7 separate regions of the Homo sapiens genome follow, and all the other regions are linked to region 3. Evidence: promoter capture Hi-C in 16 types of primary human blood cells and fetal thymus (Javierre and others, 2016). All regions are on one chromosome and are shown on one strand. The core of a region is centred on a gene start or on the middle of the fragment in contact, and the rest is flanking DNA. Distances in the headings are between cores, read along the strand shown.

The links. The method cuts DNA at HindIII sites, captures the fragments that hold promoters and counts their contacts. A CHiCAGO score of 5 or more calls a contact.
Region 1: a fragment that was not itself captured here is called in contact with the fragment with the promoter of PABPC1 in region 3 in 1 of 17 cell types (total B cells); the score reaches 5.0 in total B cells.
Region 2: a fragment that was not itself captured here is called in contact with the fragment with the promoter of PABPC1 in region 3 in 3 of 17 cell types (monocytes, neutrophils and total B cells); the score reaches 9.8 in monocytes.
Region 4: the fragment with the promoter of KLF10 here is called in contact with the fragment with the promoter of PABPC1 in region 3 in 3 of 17 cell types (monocytes, fetal thymus and total B cells); the score reaches 9.9 in monocytes.
Region 5: a contact is called between a fragment that was not itself captured here and the fragment with the promoter of PABPC1 in region 3, in 1 of 17 cell types (monocytes). The highest score is 6.9, in monocytes.
Region 6: a fragment that was not itself captured here is called in contact with the fragment with the promoter of PABPC1 in region 3 in 3 of 17 cell types (total B cells, monocytes and fetal thymus); the score reaches 11.7 in total B cells.
Region 7: a fragment that was not itself captured here is called in contact with the fragment with the promoter of PABPC1 in region 3 in 1 of 17 cell types (monocytes); the score reaches 7.0 in monocytes.

Annotation. Positions count from the first base shown.
Region 1 is chr8:102,272,887-102,276,099 of GRCh38, reverse strand. UBR5 (ubiquitin protein ligase E3 component n-recognin 5) reads left to right here. Exons shown (of 59, transcript NM_015902.6): 46 at 272-392; 47 at 481-579. Among named protein-coding and RNA genes, the nearest start is that of UBR5-DT, 35 kb to the right of the region's middle. The HindIII fragment of the contact is 3,650 bases long and covers 1-3,185 here.
Region 2 is chr8:102,230,750-102,234,392 of GRCh38, reverse strand. It overlaps RRM2B (ribonucleotide reductase regulatory TP53 inducible subunit M2B), which reads left to right. Exons shown (of 9, transcript NM_015713.5): 2 at 2,089-2,244. Among named protein-coding and RNA genes, the nearest start is that of RRM2B, 6.4 kb to the left of the region's middle. RefSeq lists a silencer at 2,464-2,683. The HindIII fragment of the contact is 1,661 bases long and covers 1,465-3,125 here.
Region 3 is chr8:100,720,738-100,724,410 of GRCh38, reverse strand. It overlaps PABPC1 (poly(A) binding protein cytoplasmic 1), which reads left to right and starts at 2,323. Exons shown (of 15, transcript NM_002568.4): 1 at 2,323-3,020. The coding sequence starts at 2,828. RefSeq lists enhancers at 1,196-1,696, 1,697-2,197, 2,252-3,084 and silencers at 1,487-2,196, 2,277-2,356, 3,037-3,146. The HindIII fragment of the contact is 6,173 bases long and covers 1-3,673 here.
Region 4 is chr8:102,654,044-102,657,240 of GRCh38, reverse strand. KLF10 (KLF transcription factor 10) reads left to right here and starts at 1,516. Exons shown (of 4, transcript NM_005655.4): 1 at 1,516-1,675. The coding sequence starts at 1,640. LOC101927245 (a long non-coding RNA gene) reads right to left here and starts at 993. Exons shown (of 5, transcript NR_160672.1): 1 at 455-993. RefSeq lists enhancers at 1-285, 886-1,486, 2,780-3,197, silencers at 627-1,646, 2,547-3,197 and a promoter at 926-1,660. The HindIII fragment of the contact is 6,240 bases long and covers 1-3,197 here.
Region 5 is chr8:102,291,552-102,294,964 of GRCh38, reverse strand. UBR5 (ubiquitin protein ligase E3 component n-recognin 5) reads left to right here. Exons shown (of 59, transcript NM_015902.6): 33 at 850-1,010; 34 at 1,121-1,360. Among named protein-coding and RNA genes, the nearest start is that of UBR5-DT, 54 kb to the right of the region's middle. The HindIII fragment of the contact is 797 bases long and covers 852-1,648 here.
Region 6 is chr8:102,254,840-102,258,239 of GRCh38, reverse strand. UBR5 (ubiquitin protein ligase E3 component n-recognin 5) reads left to right here. Exons shown (of 59, transcript NM_015902.6): 58 at 523-608. Among named protein-coding and RNA genes, the nearest start is that of UBR5-DT, 17 kb to the right of the region's middle. The HindIII fragment of the contact is 1,257 bases long and covers 1,451-2,707 here.
Region 7 is chr8:102,311,572-102,314,905 of GRCh38, reverse strand. UBR5 (ubiquitin protein ligase E3 component n-recognin 5) reads left to right here. Exons shown (of 59, transcript NM_015902.6): 15 at 53-162; 16 at 990-1,102; 17 at 2,421-2,564; 18 at 2,661-2,772; 19 at 3,017-3,171. Among named protein-coding and RNA genes, the nearest start is that of UBR5-DT, 74 kb to the right of the region's middle. The HindIII fragment of the contact is 2,930 bases long and covers 1-2,722 here.

The sequences.
Region 1 (3,213 bases), core at 111-2,610, 1.6 Mb before region 3:
GGAGAGGAGGTAAAATGAAAGACGAAGATAAGACATAGCCCAGGGATTTATCCGTATGTAGAATACAGAAGGAATAAGGGAGGAAAAATAATAAGTTGTCGGGAACAAGTAGCTATGGAAAAGTTCTCTGTTAGGACACAGTTTGAAGAAGTTAAGACCTCAGAATATTTTTTAAAAAAAGTAAGTTACTACCATTGAACAAAAACCAATCAGTCTTTGAAATTGGCTAAATTATTTCTCCCCCCCACCCCTTCCCTTAAACTTCTTACAGGCCACAGTGTAGCTTTATGGGAATGGTTATTTCCCATGATATGCTGCTAGGACGTTGGCGCCTTTCTTTAGAACTGTTCGGCAGGGTATTCATGGAAGATGTTGGAGCAGAACCTGGATCAGTATGTATTTTGTGCACCTTAAATTCCATTCTGCCTGATAAGCATGTATTTCAGGGAATAATCTGTCATGCATTTTTTTTTTTTTAAGATCCTAACTGAATTGGGTGGTTTTGAGGTAAAAGAATCAAAATTCCGCAGAGAAATGGAAAAACTGAGAAACCAGCAGTCAAGAGATTTGTCACTAGAGGTAAAGGTATTTAGATTTTCTTATACTATACCTGTAGTATGCTATTTATATAAATTTTAAAACATGCAAAATAACAATAGCTTTGCTTAGGGATATGTACTTATAATTAAAAATTTAAAGAAAATAAAAAGAAATGTTAACTACCAAATTTATTTTTTCGTGTGTGTGTGTGTGTGTGTGTGTGGTTTCTTTTTATTTTTTTCTTATTGTAACCACCAAATTTAGAATAGTAGTTTTCTCTGGCAGTTTGGTTCCCTAGCATCCTCTATGAATTTTTTTGTTTTAGTTTTTAAGTATCATTATGCATGCATTGATTTAAACTTTTTTTGATGTATTTAATTCCATTGAGATTATTATTCATATTGATGCTCAGATTGTGTCTTCTTTGGCTAATGGGAGTCTTGAGTCAGTTTTGATTCCTGAGTTCTTTTGACATGGCCCCAATAATTTTTGATAAACTTTCTTACTTTCTGGTATGTTTCATCTTGGGTATTTCCTGTCACAGACCTTAAATCAGCCATTTCTTAAAGTAGCTTTGATTCCTTTTAGTAGGAAATTGTGTTATGAGATTACAGTCTGTGCTCTAAGGTTGCATATTGCTACTGGGTTGATCATGGTTTCTAGGCCTTTTTAATTGATAACAGTTTGGGAATGCATTTTTTTTGTTCTTTTTAAAAAATCAAATAATGAATTAATATTGATACTCCCAATTCAAATTCAGGATTTAGGACCACAAGGTTGTTTTTGTTATGTTTGCTTCTTAGATTTCTTTCTTTTTTTTTTTTTTTTTGGAGACAGTCTTGCTTTGTCGCCCTGGCCAGAGCATAGTGGCATGATCTTGGCTCACTGCAACCTCCGCCTCCTGGGTTCAGGTGACTCTACTGCTTCAGCCTCCCGAGTAGCTGGGATTACAGGTGTCTGCCACCATGCCTGGCTAATTTTTGTATTTTTAATAGAGACAGGGTTTCACCATGTTGGCCAGGCTGGTCTCAAACTCCTGACCTCAAGTAATCCACCTGCCTTGGCCTCCCAAAGTGCTGGGATTACAGGTGTGAGCCACCACACCTGGCCTTGCTTCTTAGATCTTAAGTCTTTATCTCCTTTCTTTCAAACTGAATAGCCAACTTCCCAACAACATTAATCAAATTACTCATTTGTTTTAATGCCACAACATACACAGTAGCAGTCTTAGAATTACATCACTGGAATCTGAGGTGGAAGGATGGTTTGAGTCCAGGAATTCGAGGACAGCCTGGGCAACATAGTGTGAGAGACTCTGTCTCTTACAAAGAATTATAACATCAACACTACCACTAACAAAATGATTATTCAAAATAATTGAAGATTTATTTGCGGATGTTTGTCCTTAGGTCATATGCAGTTAGAGATACACAGTTAAATTAGGTTTGTTTTAAAGTCACTTGAAGTAATTCTTCTTTGTAGGTTTTGCTACCAGCTCTATATAATTAGGGCCTTTTGTTTCATTTTGCTTTCAGATTTTAGGGATTCGTTTTTCCTCTTTTGGTTTTATTTTGTAATCAATGTAAAATATCTACAGTGTGGCAGAGTGAACTCTACAAAAGAATGGATATAAGTCCATTCTTGTCTCTTTTACCATTTTTTCAAGTTTATTTCCTTCCCTCCCTTTTAAAACATATAAGCATATGTATGTATTAATTACATACCTCCTCCCACCTCCCCAAACATACTATACATTTTATTCCATCTTGCTTTTCTCACTTAGTAGTATATCCCAGAGAAAATATGAGATGTTCTACCTTCCTTTTATAGCTGCTTAATGTACTGCACTTTAATGGTTGTTATCGCAGTTTTTGCAGCTAATCCCTTACAGACTAGGTATTTGGGCTTGTTTCCAGTCTTTTGCTATTACAGATAGTGTGATGAATGGCCTCGTGTTTTTTTTTGCTAGTGTGTCCCTGAGATAGATTCTTAGACATGGAATTGCTGGGTCAAAGAGCATGTGCATATAATTTTGCTAGACATTGACAAATACTTCTGCATAAGCAGTTGCATAATTTTGCATTTTCACCATCAATGTGAGAATGCCTGATTGCTCAGTCTCGCCAGCAGTTGTTAAATTTCTAGATTTTTGCTAATCTAATAGGTAAGAAATAGCACCTCAGTATAGTTTTAATTTGAATTTATCTTATTTTGAGCAAAGTTAAACATTATTTCATATAGTTAGGATAGTTATATTTAACTCAGTTGATATGCCCATTTTTCTAAGTTGGCTTTCTCTCAGATTTCAGAGGCTTTTTATGTAGCTGTAGGTGATAGACACACTCATTAATTAATATGTATCTTTGTGACAAAAGGTGCAAACAATTTTTCCAGTTTGGTTAGTCCCCCTCCAGCCTCCCGCCCACTTAGCTTGTCATCAAGGAATCTGTTTTTTTTCTAGTATTTTTTTTTTAACATCTCTGATCATTTGGTATTTTGGTGTATCCCAAAATTGAACAAGATTATTGTTTTCCAATAGACCTTTGAAAGAAAGTGTTAGAATTGAATTAAATTCTGTTGTCCTGATTTAATTTGCAAGACATTCTTGTATGCTTTAAAGTATTGTATTTTGTAATGGATAAGCTTCTGAGAACTCCAATTACTTTGTTGTTT
Region 2 (3,643 bases), core at 1,046-3,545, 1.5 Mb before region 3:
CAGCTCAAAGGTTGATGTTGGTTAACCTCCTTCTCTTCACATTGCAAAATCCCTCATAATACACTCCTAATCCAGCTACTCCTCTTAATAGTCTACAGGTTATCAGGATAGAACAGGAGAATGTGTATACAAATGTGACTTTCATTCTAACTTAAAGGTACTAGTCTTCAGCAGATCAGTTATTTATCATCATTTAAAAACTTCATTCATCGTCAGGGCATTTGGTGCTGAAGAGTGACTGCTTGTGATGTCCTTCCCAACTTCCAGTAACAAAAGTATAGAAGTTCCCAACTTTCATACTTTGAGTATATCCCAAATTTCAGTAATAAAAATAACAAAGGCCAGGAGTTTGAGACCAGCCGGGGCAACATAGCATGACCCCCATCTCTACAAAAAATTTAAAAATTATCCAGGTGTGGTGACGTGTGCACATAGTCCTAGCTACTTGGGAGGCTGAGACAGGAGGATTGCTTGAGCACAGGAGTTTGAGACTGCAGTGATCTATGATCACACTACTCTGATCTATGCACTCTAGCCTGGGTGACGGAGCAAGACCCAGTCTTAAAAAAAAATTGCTCAAATATTTGTGGAATGAGTACCAACTAAGTGCCAGGTACTGTGCTAAGCACAAGGGATTCTACAAGGGTGAAAATGGATTTTACTTTCAAGAAGCACAGGAAATTAGAGACAATTAACAGGGAATTAAATTGCAGTGAGCTATGTACTTATATCTGGAACCTAACCCAGACCTTTGGGGTGATGTGAAGAGGGGAAAATGTGATTGATTTTAATGGTTATTGGGTTGTCTCACTGATGTATTGTGGTCCTATGTTAAATTAAAATTTTCTAAAGGTACCTAGAAATCTGAGTACAGGAAGAAGAGAAATTAGCAGCCCATTTACTTAGCTAACATGCTTGACACGATACTAAGCTCTGGGAACATCACAACAAATAAAAATTGGTTCCTCTTCTCCAGGGCTCAAGTGCTGTATCTGAGGAGGCCCATACCTTTAAACAAGTAGTTAAAATCAAGACCATCTGTACTGTGATGGCAGTAGGTATAAAGCACGCAAGCCCCCCTGTATTTGCATAGCCGTATGCTTGTATTTTGGGCTTTCTTCTTGCTAAGCCTTAGCCTCCTCTGCTATAACAGTTGCTTTGGCGAGGTGACAATGGGTGGACGCTGGAGTAAGGAACATAACGGGCCTGTCACAGTAGAGAGAGAGACAGTTTTGGATAGGAGTCTAGAAGTTGTATGTGTTCTAATCCTGGTTTATACACGTTTAGCTTATTTGTATGTCCTTTGTTTATACTCATTCTCACACATGTGCGACTCTTCTGATTCTCTTCTGATGTTCCCGCTATTTTAAAAATATATGCATGGCACCATTTGCTCTTAGAGTGCCATCGTGTTTTGAAGCAGTGTGAATACAGGTATGTGTTTCTCACTTTATTCACAAAGCTTTGAGACAGCCCACAGTGAGATCATATGCAGTAATGTTAGAATGTAAATAGCAGTAACAAATTGGAGTATCAGAAGGCTAAGATGAACAAAGGTTAAGTTGTAGGTAATGAGTTTTCAGATAAGTATTATATTATTTCAGTGAAGAGTAGAAAGAAAAAACATTAAAGTAGCTTATACCAGTAGCTTATTCATTCCAGCAATCTTATCAGAGAGGCTCTAAAGGGACATTTTGTTCACAAACTTAGAAATTTGCCCATCATGATGACATTTATGGGTCTAGCTTTGTACTTATCCTCAAACTAGCAATAATTACAATAATTTTTGAGTGCTTACTATATACCAGGCTTTGTTTAAAGCACTTTTAATCATCAGAATAAACCTATGAGGTAGGAATTATTTTACAGCTGAGGAGACTGAGGGTTAGAGAAGTTAAGCAGCTTTCTATGGTCACACACGCACTTCCTAACAGTATTAGTCAGCTACCAGGTAACAGTAAGGATTCAACCCAGGCAGACAGGCTCTCAAACCAATGCCGTCTCCCTGACTTCCTTAGATGTATGTTTAGGTATGAATAAAGAAGAAATGTCTATATAAAAGGCGTGTTTGTACTTTATTTTTCAAAGAGATCATCTTCAGACACCAACGAAAGTGAAATAAAGTCAAATGAAGAGCCACTCCTAAGAAAGAGTTCTCGCCGGTTTGTCATCTTTCCAATCCAGTACCCTGATATTTGGAAAATGTATAAACAGGCACAGGCTTCCTTCTGGACAGCAGAAGAGGTACGTGGCATTGCCTCCAAGAGCATTCACATCCTATAGTGCAGTGTTCCTTCTTGTTTTACAGGATATTGAATAACTTTAACTTATACATTGAAGAAGATCAGTTGTAGAAGATAAGTGTTGGAATTACTGAGACTAAATATGATGTTCTCAATGTTTTAGTTTAGATTACTATCTATAAACAAGTTTTCTGCTGCAACAATGGCATCTAATTCTGCCAGATTTTTATTTCCAATATATTAGAACATTTTTTTTCTTTTTCTTTTTTTTTTTTTTTTTTGAGACAGAGTCTCACTCTGTCACCCAGGCTAGAGTGCAGTGGCGCGATCTCAGCTCACTGCAAACTCCACCTCCCGGGTTCAAGCGATTCTCCTGCCTCAGCTTCCTGAGTAGTTGGGATTACAGGCGCCAGCCACCACGCCCAGCTAATTTTTGTATTTTTAGTAGAGATGGGGTTTCACCACATTGGCCAGGCTGGTCTCAAACTCCTGACCTTGTGATCCACCTGCCTCAGCCTCCCAAAGTGCTGGGATTACAGGCATGAGCCACCACGCCCAGCCAACATTTTCTATTTTTAAACAGACTTTTAGTTTGATATGGCCAAGTAAGACTTGTCTGACTAGTCTTACAAGGTCAGCAGAATAAGTAAAATTGCAGCTGTAGTCAAAAAATGAGTGAAAGCTGTAGCAACTCTGCTTTCAATTGAGAGATTTATCTGATTGTACAAAATGAGCCGCTGCATGAAGAGTTTGATCCTCTAGGCTGTGGACTCACTCCCGAGTCAGCCAGGTGGAACTCACAGTGCTGCTCCCAGTTTGGCCCTGCCCTCAGCTACATCAAACGTGACAGAGTTGCCACTAATAGATCAGCTGTAGAAAGCTTTTTGTTAATTCCACCTGGGAGATCAGTTGAACACAGCAAACTAGAAAATATTTGCTGGTTGGTAAGGACAGTGGTCATGAAAATGATTGCCCTGTAGTCTAACTGAACAAATAGTTATTGTCTTGATCTTTAAATATAATGGGTGATACCTATACAGCACTCTTGTTCTGTATATGTTTGTATATGTATCTCTATAGATAGATGTATCTATTTGGATAGATAGATTTGAATCTATTTTTCAAGACATTAATTCTATAAATGTTAAACACATGCTGTTAAGAATGCAGGCTATGGGGTCAGACTGCCTAGGTACAAATCCTGTGCCACTACTTACTAGCTATGGAACTGGGAAAGTTACATAACCTCTCTGTGTATCCTCATCAGTAAATTAGGCTAATTGTACTTGGCTATTTGTGTTGTTATGAGGATTTATGAGATATTTAAAATGGTAGTTGACACTTAGTAGGCACTAAATAAATGTAAACTATTATTTTATGCACAGAAGGGGGAAAATTTA
Region 3 (3,673 bases), core at 1,074-3,573:
AGATCCCACTCCTGTTTCCTCCTGGGCTCTGACTCTCTCTCCTATTCTATTAAATAGCAGCTCCTTGTCCTCAGGTATGGACTTTGCTTCTACTTTCCCTTGCACATACTCAACTGTACCTCCATAAAATATGACAATGACATCTACTAAGTGCAAGAGCCACAGCTGCATAGACGTCCTGATGACTGGCTCCCTTCCCAAACTATGTATTCACCTACAAAGCACTAATATACTTTTCTAGTGATGAGAATGCTTCCATTTACCATCCAGGGCATCACTGCCTGTCAAGCTGCCCTGGAAGCCTAACAACTGTTTATTTTTTATTTATTTGAGTCTCGTTCTGTCACCAGGCTGGAGTGCAGTGACGCAATCCTGGCTCACTGCAACCTCCGCCTCCCGGGTTCAAGCGATTCTCCTGCCTCAGGCTCCCGAGTAGCTGGGACTATAGGCGCGCGCCACCACGCCCAGCTAATTTTTGTATTTTTAGTAGAGACGGGGTTTCACCATGTTGGCCAGGATGGTCTCGATCTCTTGACCTCGTGATCTGCCCCCCTTGGCTTCTCAAAGTGCTGGGATTACAGGCGTGAGCCACCGCGCCTGGCTACTTTTTGTATTTTTAGTAGAGACGGGGTTTCACCATGTTGGCCAGGCTGGTCTCGAACTCCTGACCTCAAGTGATCAGCGTGCGTCAGCCTCCCAAAGTGCTGGAATTACAGGAGTGAGCCACCGCGCCCGGTCACATTTTATCCTCTTTTTAATAGGAGCAAAATAGTATTTATGTGGGATTCCACTGGTTTAAATTCTAATTAAATGAGACAAGATATAAAGTACTTAATTCCACACCTAGCAATACAGTTGACATCCATTAAAGTTTATTGAATTAAGGAATAAATTGGGCAATCATTTAACTTCTTTGAGACTGTTCCTGTAACAGTAAAGTAAAATTATTACTACTTGCTCCACCTCCCACACCAGATTGCTCTCAGGAACAAATGATAGTATGTTTACGCGAGTGCTTTAAAAACTGTAAAAGCACTTTACTACTTTCGAGTGGAATTTGTATGTTGATTTAATGTCATTCCTAGAGCCGGTTTTTATTACTATCAATTCGTTAAATTTAGCATTCCTATTAAAACCCACTACTAATGTGCAGAATTGTTTTAGTTATTTATAAGGACGTTGTTTTAGACTATTCCTAATTTTGTCTGGTTGCAGGGCTGTGGTGCCATATAGTAGTGATTGTGACAAACCCGTACTTTCAGGAAAAACATTCACTTTTCTCCACTCCTGGTTTCTATCGCCAAGAAATGTCTGGCAGAAGCAGCACAAATCAATGATTCCAGCCTAGCACCTTAAGGTAAGAAGTGACCAAAGACCCCCAACACAGCTATCCCAAATTAAAGCCACTTTGACCAACGACAACGTCCAGTGAAGACACGGAGGAGGGTCGGGCTGGAAAAGAAGAGGACGAGGAACCCGAGGGGCCCTCCCCTCTCTCTCCCTGCCCCCCAACCCCGCGCCGGGAGCTCCAGCGGTGCCGGGGTCCAGCGCGCAGGACGGTTGGGGGGTCCCGGAGCGGGCGGCCAGGACCCGCGCAGCCAGTTGGTGTCAGCGAGCGCCGCGGCCGTTGGGGACTCCAGCTCCCAGCAGGCACCGCTTCTGCGGCCGACGCGCGTGGCGGCGGTGCCGGCTGGGACTCGTAGTGCGGTCCGGGTAGGAGAGAGCAGGGGGCCACGCTGGCTCCATCTACGCACGTTTCGGAAACCGGGCCCGGAGGGGACCACGCCCGCTCACCCGTGCCCGGCGTCCCCCGGAGCTGGGGCTAGAGGAGCCGGGCCGGCCGCAGCGGGAAGAGGCCACAGGCGGCCGCGCACGTGGGGGGTGGTTAGCGCGGAGGAACCCGGAAGCCCTTTGCACCGCCCACCGCCGCGGTGACGGGTTAACGCTCCTCCTGGTGGAGGCAGGGGCGGGCGGGGCGGAAGGCGGGGACGCCTCAGCCAACACCCCCGAGGACCGCCCGCGAGCCGTCCTCCCCACCCCCACGGACGCGACGCAGCGCGGGCTCCGCTTCCCCGGCCGCGGCGCCTGCGCAAAAGCCCCGCCCCTTCGCCCGAGCCCCACCCCCACACCGCAGCCTCCACCGCCGCCACCTCTCCCTTCCTCTCTGCTCTTTCCTCCTGTTTTCTCTTCCCTCCTCCCCCTGGCCTCCGCGTCTCCTCCTACTCCGGCGCTGACGCTCGCGTAGGGGCCCTGGCGTCAGACGCGCGGGGGCGGGGCGAGTGCGGCGCGGGGTATAAGTAGAGGGTGCAGGAGGCGGTGCTTCCCCTTCTCCCCGGCGGTTAGTGCTGAGAGTGCGGAGTGTGTGCTCCGGGCTCGGAACACACATTTATTATTAAAAAATCCAAAAAAAATCTAAAAAAATCTTTTAAAAAACCCCAAAAAAATTTACAAAAAATCCGCGTCTCCCCCGCCGGAGACTTTTATTTTTTTTCTTCCTCTTTTATAAAATAACCCGGTGAAGCAGCCGAGACCGACCCGCCCGCCCGCGGCCCCGCAGCAGCTCCAAGAAGGAACCAAGAGACCGAGGCCTTCCCGCTGCCCGGACCCGACACCGCCACCCTCGCTCCCCGCCGGCAGCCGGCAGCCAGCGGCAGTGGATCGACCCCGTTCTGCGGCCGTTGAGTAGTTTTCAATTCCGGTTGATTTTTGTCCCTCTGCGCTTGCTCCCCGCTCCCCTCCCCCCGGCTCCGGCCCCCAGCCCCGGCACTCGCTCTCCTCCTCTCACGGAAAGGTCGCGGCCTGTGGCCCTGCGGGCAGCCGTGCCGAGATGAACCCCAGTGCCCCCAGCTACCCCATGGCCTCGCTCTACGTGGGGGACCTCCACCCCGACGTGACCGAGGCGATGCTCTACGAGAAGTTCAGCCCGGCCGGGCCCATCCTCTCCATCCGGGTCTGCAGGGACATGATCACCCGCCGCTCCTTGGGCTACGCGTATGTGAACTTCCAGCAGCCGGCGGACGGTGAGCGCCGGGCTCCGCGGTCGGCCGGGCGGGCGGGCGGCCATGAGGCTCGGGCGGCGGCGGCGGGCGGGGTAGGCCGGCGGGCCCGGGGAGGGGGGCGGGAGGGCATGTCACCCCGCGACGGCCGGCGGGAAGGCGCCGGGGTCCCTGGAGCCGCGTTTCCCGAGCCGGCGGGGACCCGCGCTGCCGGCAGCCACACGCCCGGCTACTTCCTCCTTTGCGACCATTTTCTCGGCCTCAGACGCTCTCAAACTTTAGGGTGATGACGCGCCGGGAGGGTGGGTGAGATTCGGTTCCTCCGCGGCGCTCCCGCCAGTGGCCCCGGGATTCTGGGGCGTTGAACGCTGAGCTCCTTCCGTGGGTAAGAGGTGGAGGCGCTCCCACCACCCGGAGCTCCTGCCGGCGCCCCAGCCTGGGGAGGAAGTGCAGTTCTGTGCTCGAAAAATACCACGTGTTGAACCCTGTAACCTCGCAGGCCCGAGGCCTGCTTCTGCTCCTGCTCCTGGCCCAGTCGCCTGGGGGAGCCACCAGGCCTTAGGATAAAGTTCCTGTGGCGATGTGTGGTGTGGTGGTGGTCCTCAGGCTTGTGAGTCCACTTCCCAGAACTCATCAGTGACTGATGGATCTAGGAATGGAATTTACCGGAGACATGC
Region 4 (3,197 bases), core at 267-2,766, 1.9 Mb before region 3:
AAAAAACCATCGGAAGATACGCATAGCATTGGCAGTTTCTAAAAGAATTAATTCCCTTCCTGTGTTCATTCTGTGATTACTGGGATAGAAATGCTATTTGCATTACCAGCCTTTCATTCAGTTACAGAGACGTGAGTGCTCGAAGGAGAGACAGTGATTTTTGCCTTAAATTCAGCCTGTCCAAATCGGATAAGATCTCCGATTTGCTTTAAGCCCCGTTATCACTGCCTTCCTCTCCAACAACAGCTGCTGTGATCACGCACAAACGGCCAAACGGGGGCAAATCCGTGCCAAAGCAGGGCCATGGGCTTTCCTGATCAGAAGGCCTAGCCCCAGCCCCCAGGCGCAGCACACGGGCGGCTTCCTTTCAGAAACCCAGCCTGCCTCCCACCAGCTGGAGTGGGTGGGTGGGGCGGTAGTGGTGCCAGTTTCAGGGAACGGCCGGCAAACCCACCTCCAGGCGTGCTCCAGCGGGAGCCTGGAGACCCTAGGAGAGCCCTCCCCACAAGCGGCTTCCAGGCAGGACGCTTCCAGAGGTCTTGGTCCAGGGGTGGGGGTGAGGTGGGGTCTACCTTTGAAACAGCTACAATTTAAACTTCAGCTACACCGAGCTCAAACTCGATTCCGCAGCCGAGTGTCGGCGCCAGAGAAGGATAAAAACTCGGGTCTACGGCTCCCCACCACGCCCCTGGTCCGGTCCTCTGGGCTTCCAGGAGTCCTCACGCCATCCTCTGGGTTGCCCAGGAGGAAGGATGGGCGGGGCGGGCAGGCGCTGCGGGCGCTGCAGATGGGGAGGGCGAGCCCGCGGCACGGCGTGAGCGGGGGAGAGGCGCGCGAGCAGGTGTCGGCTCCGTGACAGGGTCCCCCATCCCGCGCCCCAGTGCTCCCCGAGGCTTAGTGAGGCAAAACCCAGCAAATGCTTCAGAAATGCAGCTCAGTCGGTCACCGGGTTCTGCTTCCTCATCAGACGCGCAAGAGGATGGCGCTTCCAATGCAAATCTCTTGGCTCCGGCCCCTTGGCTGGCAGCCGCCGCGTCCCCCGCCTGCCTGGCGTCCCGCCCACTCCGTGGCGGGCTGAGACGAGGCCCGGCGCGGAGGGGACGGGGCGGAGCGGGCATCCCTCCCCACCCCCCACGTGGGGCTGGCCCTCCGCAGTGCCTGGGCGCGCTGCAGTCGCCGCGCCTCCCCGGCCGCGGCACCGCCTCTCTAGGCAGGGGCGGGGGACGAGGGGCAAGGAGTGGGCGAGGGGTGGGCGAGGGGCGGGGGGCGTCACTCAATCAGGTGGCCTCTGGAGTTCCCCGGGGCAGGGCAGAGGGAACACGCTGCCGGGGATTGTGTACACGCTCCACTGACACCAGCTTCACGCTGCCGGGCAGTCGCCGATCACGCGTGGCCCCGCGAGCCCATTGGCCGGCGCCTCACACACCTTTGCCGTTGATTGGCCGGCCTCAGGCTCCGCCCCCACCCCCGCCCGCGGCGCGGGGCAGGCTGAGCGGCTACCTGAATGGGGAGGGGGCAGACGGCGCTGAGCGCGGCGGCGGCGGGAGCGGCGTCGAGTGTCTCCGTGCGCCCGTCTGTGGCCAAGCAGCCAGCAGCCTAGCAGCCAGTCAGCTTGCCGCCGGCGGCCAAGCAGCCAACCATGCTCAACTTCGGTGCCTCTCTCCAGCAGACTGCGGTAAGTCATTTGGGGATGCCCCTGTGCTTCCTCGCCTGGTCTTGTCTGGGGGGCCAAAGGGGGCGCGAACCCCGAGCCCCGGACATCAGCCATGCCTGAGAATTGGGGCTGCAGCGGAGTCGTGGGGAAGGAAAGGGCTTCCTGCCTGCAGACTATGGGCATTAGTGAGGGCGTGTGTGTTCGGGAGGGGGTCGAACCAGGGGGCTGGGATCTTCAGACAGGGACAGGGGTCTTGCTCTAGATGTACTGAGGGGAAGGGACAACTCCGCATGGAGACCCGAGAGGGCTGGTGAGGAGGAGGATGACGAGCGGGGGAGGAGTGGGGAGGGGGCCGTTGCCCTGCAGCGAGGTTGGGGTACAGTGTGGAACGAGAGTCGCGGGAGGGACAAGGGGGCTACCCTCACCTGGTACCGAGGAGAGATGCCCGGTCTGGCTCAGGAACGCGAGCCAGGGGAGGAAGGGGCTGCTCGCAAGCACTCGGGAGGCGGGGTGTCCACAGGAGAGGCGAGTGGGCTACCCATCCTGGGGGTCTGAACCCACGCTTGGAAGACGGGGGCTGCTCAGCAGATAGCTCGGGGCTGGGGGAAGGGGCGCCTGTCGTCGGAGCGGGGGGATGACACGAGGGCCCGCCGACAGCCCTGGGGGACGAGTTGCTCCCCCAGACGTCTGGAGGGGGACTCTTACCCCAGGGGCAGGTGGCCGCCTTCTGACGACTCCTTGGAAGAGGCGGGGAGCCGCCTCTGGGGCAGGAGGGTGGGAAGCGGGACCCAGCAGCTGGGGCGGGAAGGTGGGCGGGGGGAGCTGGGCCGCGAGACGCGGGGGCCGCGCGTCTGGAGCCGGGGCCTGTGGGGGCTGCACGTCTGGGAACCCGTGGAGACGCGCGGCGGGAGGGGCCTGGAGCTGCCGGAAGCCACGGGGAGGGGGCGCCGCGTCTACAGGGAGAGACGGGGTGGTCTGAGGTCCCGTGGGCCGCGTGGGCGGGAAGTGCCGAGGGCTCGGCCGGGTTCCCGGGGGCTGCCGGCGGGAGGAGGGCGGCGGCCGGGTTTCCGCGGGGACCTGGCTCCTCCTCCCGCATCTGAGGCGGAGGCCGGGGGTGGGCCGGGAGCGGGTGCGCCCGGGGAGCTTCTCGTCCCCGAGTGACCCAGCCCCGGCCTCCGCCAGGGGCGGGAGCGAGGCCCGGCCCCGCTGTCGGTTCCTAAGGGAACGGCGGCTCGCGGGGAGCTGGAAGGGGCGGGCGCCTCCCGGAGCCTGGCGCCCGCAGCCCCGCCCCTCCCCGCGGGCCCGGCGCGCACGGCCGGGCGGTTGGCGGCGGCGCCCGCGGCCCCTCCCCCGGGTCGGGCGCGGGCGGGGGCCCGCAAGCTCAGGAAGTAGGGGAAAGGTGACGGCGCGGCAATTCCCAGTTCACGTTTCCTGCGCCTCCCGGAGCAGCCGCTGATCACGCTTTGTTCACATGCCTCGCCCCCTCCTCGCCCACGCCCCCGCCCCGGGCCGCACAGCCAATCCGGGCTCGGGCCGCCGAGCC
Region 5 (3,413 bases), core at 1-2,500, 1.6 Mb before region 3:
GTATTACAAGTACATGAAAAGTATGTTTTTCAAGTACTCTTCTTTGCTGTGAAACTAGAAAAGAATTTAAACCTTAAGATCCAGTGCGAATGAGGTTATGGTAATAACACACTCAGATAGGGATGGGGTGGCATTGCATCGTTCCTTTCTCTGGAAAACATAAAACTATCAGTGCCCTCAGAACCTGTCATAAATAAATAATTTACGATGTGAGAAAAATAAAGGCATGTCACAGAATAATGTAAAATTTAAAAACAGAAAAATATCAGCCTAATACTAGTGTAATCTTGAATCAAATTATAGCCTGACCACTTACTGGAATATGATGCAGCAATTTAAAAATAAATCGTATTGTAAATAACGTAAAAAAAAAAACCAAACAACCAAACTGTGAAAATTGGGTGTTCTCTGTAGCTAACATTTATACAAGAAGCTGCACACAGAAAAGAGACTAGAAAGTAATAATGGTTCCATGAGGGAGATGGGATTATGAATTTATTCATATAAATATTTGAGTCTGCTTTGCTGTTTTGGAAAGTGCCCCAGACTGAGTTTATGTTTTCTTCTTCTGATTTCATATATTTGGTATTGTTCTTCTAAATATTAGTTGATATACCAAGGACTGTGGGACAAAAAATAAGAAATCGTACATTTAGGACTCACTGTATGTCAAGCACATTGGCAGGTATATTTCATAAACTGACCTTGTAAATGTTTTGGTTAAATTTGTTTTGAGATTTTATTATAAAATGTTAATACTTAAAAAATGTTAGAACTTATAACTTTATGAATGTCTAAACATCTTATGAAGTATCTTAACATTAATAGAGTGAATATAATTTTTTAAAGCTTTTAGATACTCTACTAGGTACACTAGTGAAAGAACTCCAAAACAAATATACACCTGGACGTAGAGAAGAAGCTATTGCTGTGACAATGAGGTTTCTACGTTCAGTGGCAAGAGTTTTTGTTATTCTGAGTGTGGAAATGGCTTCATCCAAAAAGAAAAAGTAAGGCATCCTTTTTGATTTTGGTTTAGATACCATTTTCACTCTGTTTTTGTGATAGTGATTTATGTATATGAAAAGATAGATTGCTGATATTTCTCTTTTTGTTCTAGCAACTTTATTCCACAGCCAATTGGAAAATGCAAGCGTGTATTCCAAGCATTGCTACCTTACGCTGTGGAAGAATTGTGCAACGTAGCAGAGTCACTGATTGTTCCTGTCAGAATGGGGATTGCTCGTCCAACTGCACCATTTACCCTGGCTAGTACTAGCATAGATGCCATGCAGGGCAGTGAAGAATTATTTTCAGTGGAACCACTACCACCACGACCATCATCTGATCAGTCTAGCAGGTAAATTGCTACCAGGTAACAGATTCTGATTAATCCTTCTCTGGAAATGTCGTGTTTGACTTCCTAAAACCTTTGCATAAGCACTCAGGTGGTGTACATGATCATTTGTGTAACATAAATAACAACCAGAAAGCCGGAATTTTAAATATTTTTCTACAACAACTGTATTATCAAGGACAGGGCTAAAATAACTCCATTATAAATGTTTCTAATTATAAGATTATTTGTTCTTAAGTTTCATTTATCTTTTCTATTTGTTTGATAGTTTCCCTAATTACACTGTAAGCTTGTTGAATCAGGATGTTGAGCAACTTAAAACTTTCCGATGTCCTTTAGCACACTGCTTCTCAAACTTTAATATGTATGAAAATGACTTGGGGCTCTTATTAAAATATAGATGCCCACTCTAGAGGTCTTGAGGTGGGGCCTCCAACTTCGTATGCCTTTCAAGTTCTCAGGTGATGCCAATTCTGCTGGTTTAGGGGTCAGACTTTTCAGTAATAATGCTGTAGATCTTTGGCAAATATTTAGTGTATTTTGTTTTTTCAAGTCTGATTTTATAACCATGTGCATGTGTGATGATGTTTTAATAAGGACCTTTAGGATCTAAAGACCCTTTTCCTCCTTTTCTGGAAAACATCTCTGTTAATAAGGATGGCCTGCTTTAGTGTTTGGGATAGTTCCCAAGTTGTTACGCTTGGATTTGATCTGGGTTGGTGTTGAGTATCTGCTCTCACTATTCTCCTATATGCCAGTATATGTGTCCCAATTTTTCCTTTAATGTCAGGTGTCCCTTTAATCTAAATCCAGTTTTGTCTGACAGAGCTCTCCCATAGTATCCTTGATACTGATATACATCCAGGACTTGTTGAAAACTGTTACAAATCAAGCTGTGTATCTTCAGACTTGTCAAATCTATCCCATGATTAAATAATTCTGCTTGTGAGATCTGCTTGGACTCTGTATGATTTTCCTGATCTTGATACCCTGTGAGGAACTCATTAGTTACTTAAGTGGTATTACTTTGTGAATTCTTAGTATACTTCCCTTGATCTTGTTCTGGAACATAAAAAATTGATGGCTGTTGAACAGATTTTGGGATCGTCTCATCTCTAAACACTGCCCTTGAAACTGTTCCTACTAAGTTTCAAGATTTTGTGTCATCTTGTTCTTAGTCTCATTATTAAAGTATTACATACTCTTAAACTCTCTTTATTCCATTCCCTTTGCTTGTTTCTTGAGACAACTTCCTAAATCTTCCCAGAAGGAGATCTCATGTGATAATCAAGAAATAGTGCTAATGTTTTCTTCAACTGTTAAAAGTTCTTTATTATAGTACAGTACATTCTTACCCATAAAGGGTGTATTTTGACTAGTGTTCCAAGGATGTCTTAAGTTGAAAAACACAGACCTTGACCATTCTCTGGGATTTCACTTGTCTTGGATTATAGAAGGTGTATATCACCCCATTGAGTGTGAAGTCTTAAGAGTAGCTTTTTCTGTTGCTTCTTTCCACCTCTTGAAAATGTTCTTGTTATGTTCTTAATAAATAATCTGTTTCTACTTTATTTCCATGTCTCTCATATAACAGTAACTAACAGTTACTGAAATTTTAGTATGTACTAGGAACTTTCCTAAGTATTGTAGACAGATTACCTGTTTTAATTTTCCCAATATGTCATAGATAACCACTATCATTCTAGTTTGTCAAATGGGGAAACTACGGCTCAGAAAAGTTAGGCAACTTCTCCAGTGTAACACAGCTAATTAAAGTTTAGACGCTGGACTTACCTTGACAGATACTTCCTTTTTTTTTTGTATTCTCCTGAATAGTAGATGGCAGAGTAGAGAGGAAGACTACTTGGTGCTTGCTCATAGTGTTGAGCCACCACACAGTTAACCAACACTGAACCAGGCTTTATAGTGTAGAGTGCAGTCCAAAACTCTCCAAAATGCAGACTTGTAGTTAGAAGTTCTCAAAAGAGACCTTTTTCCATTCTGCATCTATTCATGGCTGAGATAGGTAAATCTCTCGAGGTATGATTTTTCTGTT
Region 6 (3,400 bases), core at 830-3,329, 1.5 Mb before region 3:
TGCTACCTTGTAATACAGTTTTTAATACTAATAAGAATTTGTCTCATTTACAAACCAAAAATTTAGGAAGGAAAACAGTATCCAAATAAACTGCCTAAGATCTTGCCACTCCAAGTATGATCCTCAGATCAGTAGCATTGGCATCATCTGAAAGCGTTTTAGACAGGCAGAATCTCTGGTCTCCCCTCTCTGCATTCCCCACCCAGTGAATGAATGAGAATCTGCATTTCTTGAGATCATAAGAATACTGACATACAGATGAGATAAAACTCATGTGAATATCAGTTTTAAGGCTGGTGGTTCATTTGTTTTGGTCATATTGAGTCAGGATTGACTAATGAACTGTAGAGGTTTTGCATTATGCAAATGCTCTTAATTTCTTGTATTAGGAATTAGACGCTCCCCCCCAAGTCTTAAATAATGTTTTAATCTGTATCCTTTTATTATAAGAAGATTAGTAATATTCTACAGATAATAACAACAACTGGTATAGTATATTTTATTTACATTCTTCATTCTTAGGAGAAAATGCTGAGAAGCTTCTGCAGTTCAAGCGTTGGTTCTGGTCAATAGTAGAGAAGATGAGCATGACAGAACGACAAGATCTTGTAAGTTAAAAATTTCACAAGATTTGTAGAAGGAAATACAGAAGTTAAAAATACCATGTATGATGGCCTTTTAAGTTTGTAATGGTTGGTCATTTTAATTTTGGGTAGGGCAATTATAGAAGGTCACAAATAAGGCAGTTTTTGTTTTTCTGCTCTATAACAATATCTGAAGTATTACTAAAGCTCTAAGCAGAGTGAAGTACATTTAGCTGTTAATATGCTGTCCTTAGTCCCAGAAGATACCAGTTTACTGTTGCAACATGGCTTTTTATCTTTATCGCACTGCCTACATATGCTTCTCCCTGTATACATCCTTAATCCTTTTGACTAGTGCCAAGCCTTGACAGAATTTCTGAGTATTATCTTGATTGTTATCTGCATACTAGGAAGAGAGTAGCTTAATTGTGATATGTGGGTACTAAGTCTTTCAAAATCTTATTAGTACAGAGCCCCAGCTAACTTAGAATTATAAATTAGATAACAGAAGCTTTGATCTTAGTGGAAAGTCTACCTCTTAGTGGAACTTACGTCCACCCATCAAGTAAAACCATAACCAAATCATCCTGTCCATTAATCTTGAAAGGCAGTATGCTGCAGACTTTCTTGTAGAAATTTGAAGGACATTCCTTATCTAGAAGACCCTGGAAGATCCTTTCTGTACTCCTGGAACATTGCCCCGGTCTAACCAGCCTTAGTTCTAAACTAGACCACTTCTGGAAATATTTAAAAATGATCAGATTTCTAGATATATCCTTTATTTTATTTGAATAAGGGGAAGTGGTTATTTGTGCAGGAAAGAAAAAAATTGCAGATTCCCAGTTACCTTCATTCAGGCAGAAGCTTATTTTGGGGGTGGTGGAGGGAAGGAGGGGAATTCATGCTTTTAGCACTCCTGAATCTTTACATGGCTCTAGGTGTATTCTAATATTTCTCTGCTATGGTGAGATGGGTTTGTTCAGCAGTCCTAACTGCCACCTAGTTCATTTCTCAGCTTTTAGCCACCCTAGTAATTTTGACTTAGTTTGTTCCCCAGGTGGGTTTGATATAATTGGTCAGCATTTGACTTCTCCAGTCTTATGGCTCTTAAAAGTTCCCACTAGTCAATACCATAACTGTCCCTGTTGGTTTCAGGATCACCTAAATAGCTTAAGTTCTACCACCTTTAGTCAGTCTTTAGATTCAGGGCACCTTGTTTCCTTAAGACAAGCCCCATCTCAAGTCTGTAAGAACCACCAAAAACAGAAAGGATTGGCTATCTGGTATAAGTTCTAAGTCATCTATTTTAATCTATTTCCTAGTTTTAATTTCTGCCAGGTTTTTTTTTTTTTTGAGACGGAGTCTCACTCTGTCGCTCAGGCTGGAGTGCAGTGGCACAATCTCGGCTCACTGCAAGCTCCACCTCCCGGGTTCACGCCATTCTCCTGCCTCAGCCTCCCGAGTGGCTGGGACTACAGGTGCCTGCCACCACGCCTGGCTAATTTTTTGTATTTTTAGTAGAGACAGGGTTTCACCATGTTAGCCTGGATGATCTCGATTTCCTGACCTCATGATCCGCCTGTCTTGGCCTCCCAATTCTGCCGTTTTTAAACCAGTATTTCCTCAGTCCAGTCAGCCAACTTAAATCTCATGAGTTTCTGCCTTCTACTGAAAGAAAAATTTGCTAGTGACTCAATCTTAGAAAAAAGAAAATCTCCTTCTATAAAGACCTCAAAATTTCCTGTCAACAGCTTTAGTTTGTGAACCTTAAACTCTTATTGAAAATCTATGTTTAGGGTGTAAGCAGTTTATCATGGTATCTTCCTCCCCCTTACCCTTCTCCTCTTTTTGGGAAGTCATCCTTCACATATTGTTTGGTTTCATCCTGATGCATCTAGAGGACATAAGAATGGGGTTTCTGAAACAGTTCTCCCATGAATTAATTAGTCCTGCAACTTATAGGGTTTCCAGAGTTATTGGGTAAACTACAGTTTATTTCCCTCTTGGAGTGTTATAATTCACTAGTAAAAGTATTTCTCTTCCAACTTCTTAGAGATCCAGCAGTGAGGTCATCTACCCTGGTTAACCACATTCATCCTTGGAGAAACACTTTATATTAAGCTTGTTTCTTATCTATGAAATGAGTGGTTTAGATCAACTTCATCTCTAGAGTACCTGTTTTCTATTTCTTTTCAGATTTTATAGATCCTGATACTTAACTTTTTTTTTTTTTTTCTGTCCCTTTATATAGAATTCTAGATGAGCTTTCCCATACAACTGTGCTTCAGGAAATCTTAAGTTTGTTTAGGTTTCCTAGTCATTCTAGGAAATTGGATATACTTCATTGTTGTGCATTATAAAATGATTAGATTAAAAAAAAAGCTTTTCCTTAAGAGAGACAGACACTGAAGAATGATGCGTATGTATGAAGGGATGGATTGATGAGGAATGTTACATGTTCAGCAAACTATTTCAGGGAGGCATATCCTTGGTTAAGTTAAAAAGTGTAAGTTCACATTTACTGAGCATCATTTACACTGTGTTGCACAAAGTTTTATTACAGAGGTATGATAAAACTTAGTGTTAATATGGCTTATTGCATGAATTTTGATGCATAGATAGATGTTCCCCAATAATTACTATTATAAAATGATTCTGTATCACAATGTAGCAGTAAATACTTTTTTTGCTTTATTATTTTATTATTTGCATTATTTTGCTCCTTAATGCAAAATAACTTTTTAAGATAACCTGTGTGAGTTTTGAACCTAAGACCGTATCTTTTGTTTGGCAGCCTTTTTTCCACTAATAGACAC
Region 7 (3,334 bases), core at 8-2,507, 1.6 Mb before region 3:
TTCCATTATTTCATTTATCTAATTATAAGGAGAATCTTATTTCTTATCTCAGGCCTGAAAGTAAGCAGGAGCCAGTGAAAACAGAAATGGGTCCTCCACCATCTCCAGCATCCACGTGTAGTGATGCATCCTCAATTGCCAGCAGTGCATCAATGCCATACAGTAAGTTTTATTTGTTGTATGCATTTGTGAAAATAGGTCTCATGCAGACAGCTGTGTTTAGTTTGTTTCTGATTTAAGGCAACTCATATCATTTTTTACATCTTTTTATATAATTTGTATCTCTATTACTTTGGTTTTTTTTTTTTGCATAACCTTCTTTGAATAGAAAGATGGTATTTACAGTGTTGACTATTTCTGTTGTTTTTCAGAATTAGAGTTTTAAAAAGATATGTGAAATTCATGATAGTAATAGAAGGAAATAATTGCCACTAGCTAGTCTATCTACTCACTTTTGTTGAGACTCTTATTATTGTAAATTGATTATGTCTTGGTCACAACTTTTGCTCAAAATTTGTAAATTTATAAACCTAGACTTACTGCCACACCATGGATAGAATTTTTTCAAAAATTCCTTAAAATAAATTTTATGGTGTTAATTGCTTTGCAATTTAGGAAATTAAAAGTTAGACTTTAATAGTTATGTGATAGTTTTCTTAAAACTATCTGGCAGATCTTCCTTTTTAAACTCTGGTTAGATACTATAATTTTGGGAGTACAAAATACATTTTACGCTATTTCTTTGTACTTGTTTATACTGGTGTTAATACAATTAAACATTAATGGTTACAGTTGTTCTTCACTGTGAATTTATTTGAAGTACAGATTGATCAGAAAACTCCAATTCATAAAGCAGTAGCTTAGGAAATTGTTGAGAAACTTCACTTATGTATCCCTTTAAAGATAGTCTTTCTTATAAATTTAGATGAAATCTATAAAGTCTCTTTTACATTTTCTTTTTGGTACTTACCATTTTGTTGTTGTCTAAGAACGACGACGGTCAACCCCTGCACCAAAAGAAGAGGAAAAGGTGAATGAAGAGCAGTGGTCTCTTCGGGAAGTGGTTTTTGTGGAAGATGTCAAGAATGTTCCTGTTGGCAAGGTTTGTTCAAGATATCTAAAACTTAATTACTAACAGAATTATAATGATATTGGTTATCCAGGGATTTGTGGTTGATATCTGAGTCCTTTCTTCAGGGCTGTTTTATTTATCATCTTCAGTGGTATCTTTAGTTGCACCCCTGCATCTGATGCAGATCTGTCTTCTCAGTCGCTGACAGATGAAGAGATTATGCCTCTCTTTGAGCATTTGTGATGATATGTTGCTTTTTAAAAAAACTATTATTTGGGAATAGTTTTAGTTTTGTAGAAAAGTTGCATAGAGATACGTTACTTTTTGGTACAGCCCATTTGTTGGATCTCTTAGTTCTAGTTGAGATCATCTTCCATGACATTTAAAATTCTTCCAGAGTACTGAAAAACCTTATTACAAGTCACCTTCCACTTTTTCTCCTCTCTTCTGTTTTGCCTTCTAAGAAACCATCAATTTGAGTGCCATTAATTTCACTCTTCTACTGACACATATTTAAAATGCACTTGCAGTTGTAGAATGTCTGTAAAGTAAAGGTTTTCATGATTACTCAGTAGTTTCTGAAACGTGATAGTCTTTCATTTATACTTAAAGGAAAGAGCAGATATACCAGTTTCTGCAGCTTACAAAGGTCTTTCTCATATACCGTTTCATTTGATTCTCAAAATAGACCTGTAGTTCATGGGTAGGTGTTTTCTTCTGAGAATTAGATACGGGCTTAAAATAAAAAGCATCAAGTAGCAGAAGTGGGACCCAAATTTGTCCTGGTTTCAAATTCTGTGCTTGTCTTTCTGTGCATTGCTGACCCTATCCCTGTGTTGAGTGTATTGTAGCCACTAGCTGTATATGTGGCTGTTTAAATTTGTTAAAATCAAATAACTTAAAAAAGTCAGCACCTTCGTCACATTAGCTTCATTTCAAGTGCTCAGTAGCCACTTATGGCTAATGGCTGCCGTATTGGACACCGCCAATATAGAACGTTGCCATTTTCAAGAAAGTTCTGTCAGACCGAAGGCTGCTTTAATTTAATTAGGAGATGGGAGGATTTCACGGGCTATATACTTAAGTTTTTCAGTTGATTACTGAAAACATTCACTGACTGTAATCACTGGCTGTGTGGGTCAGTTTTCTCTAGCAAATGAGCCTTGAATATAGATGTCAGTAGCAAAGCTCAGAGTCTGTCTGGGTTGATTTTATAACTTGGTGATCATTGAAGAAACATACAAAGAATTGGATTCCTTTAACATTAAATTAGTTCAGTGAATAGAATTTGTATGTTGATTTTATATAAGCTATTGCTAATGTTCATTGAATTTGCCTATACTTCCAGGTGCTAAAAGTAGATGGTGCCTATGTTGCTGTAAAATTTCCAGGAACCTCCAGTAATACTAACTGTCAGAACAGCTCTGGTCCAGATGCTGACCCTTCTTCTCTCCTGCAGGATTGTAGGTTACTTAGAATTGATGAATTGCAGGTAAGTGTAAAGAAGTTATTCAGCAAGTGAATATTGGAACTGACTCCGTGAGTTTATTATGGAGTTTGAAAGCAAAATTCCTTTTGTGTCATGCAGGTTGTCAAAACTGGTGGAACACCGAAGGTTCCCGACTGTTTCCAAAGGACTCCTAAAAAGCTTTGTATACCTGAAAAAACAGAAATATTAGCAGTGAATGTAGATTCCAAAGGTAAATTTTGAAACTTCTTCAGCTGGCATATCCTATATTCCATTAATACTTGTTCAGGAAATGGGAATATGATAAAATAATTCAGGGCATTGGCATTTTTTTGTTCCCTATCTGTAACATTATGGAATGGCATGTATCTGTTTGAATTGACTTACAAGTGTGGCCAGAGAAGTTAAAATATTGTAGATGTTTATTAGAGATAAGATGTATAACAATTTTTCTTCTCATTTATGTGCTTCTGAAGGTGTTCATGCTGTTCTGAAGACTGGAAATTGGGTACGATACTGTATCTTTGATCTTGCTACAGGAAAAGCAGAACAGGAAAATAATTTTCCTACAAGCAGCATTGCTTTCCTTGGTCAGAATGAGAGGAATGTAGCCATTTTCACTGCTGGACAGGTAGAGGCTCATTTTTGCTTTTGAAAAGTGATAGGACAACAATGGCATTTTTGTGAGGTTAGGGGGTCTGGCTCTGGTTAGCTTATCAATTATTCAAAAACCTAGAATATTTAGCACATTTGAATACTAGGTTTCTTATTACTATTACTAAAATCTAATTTGG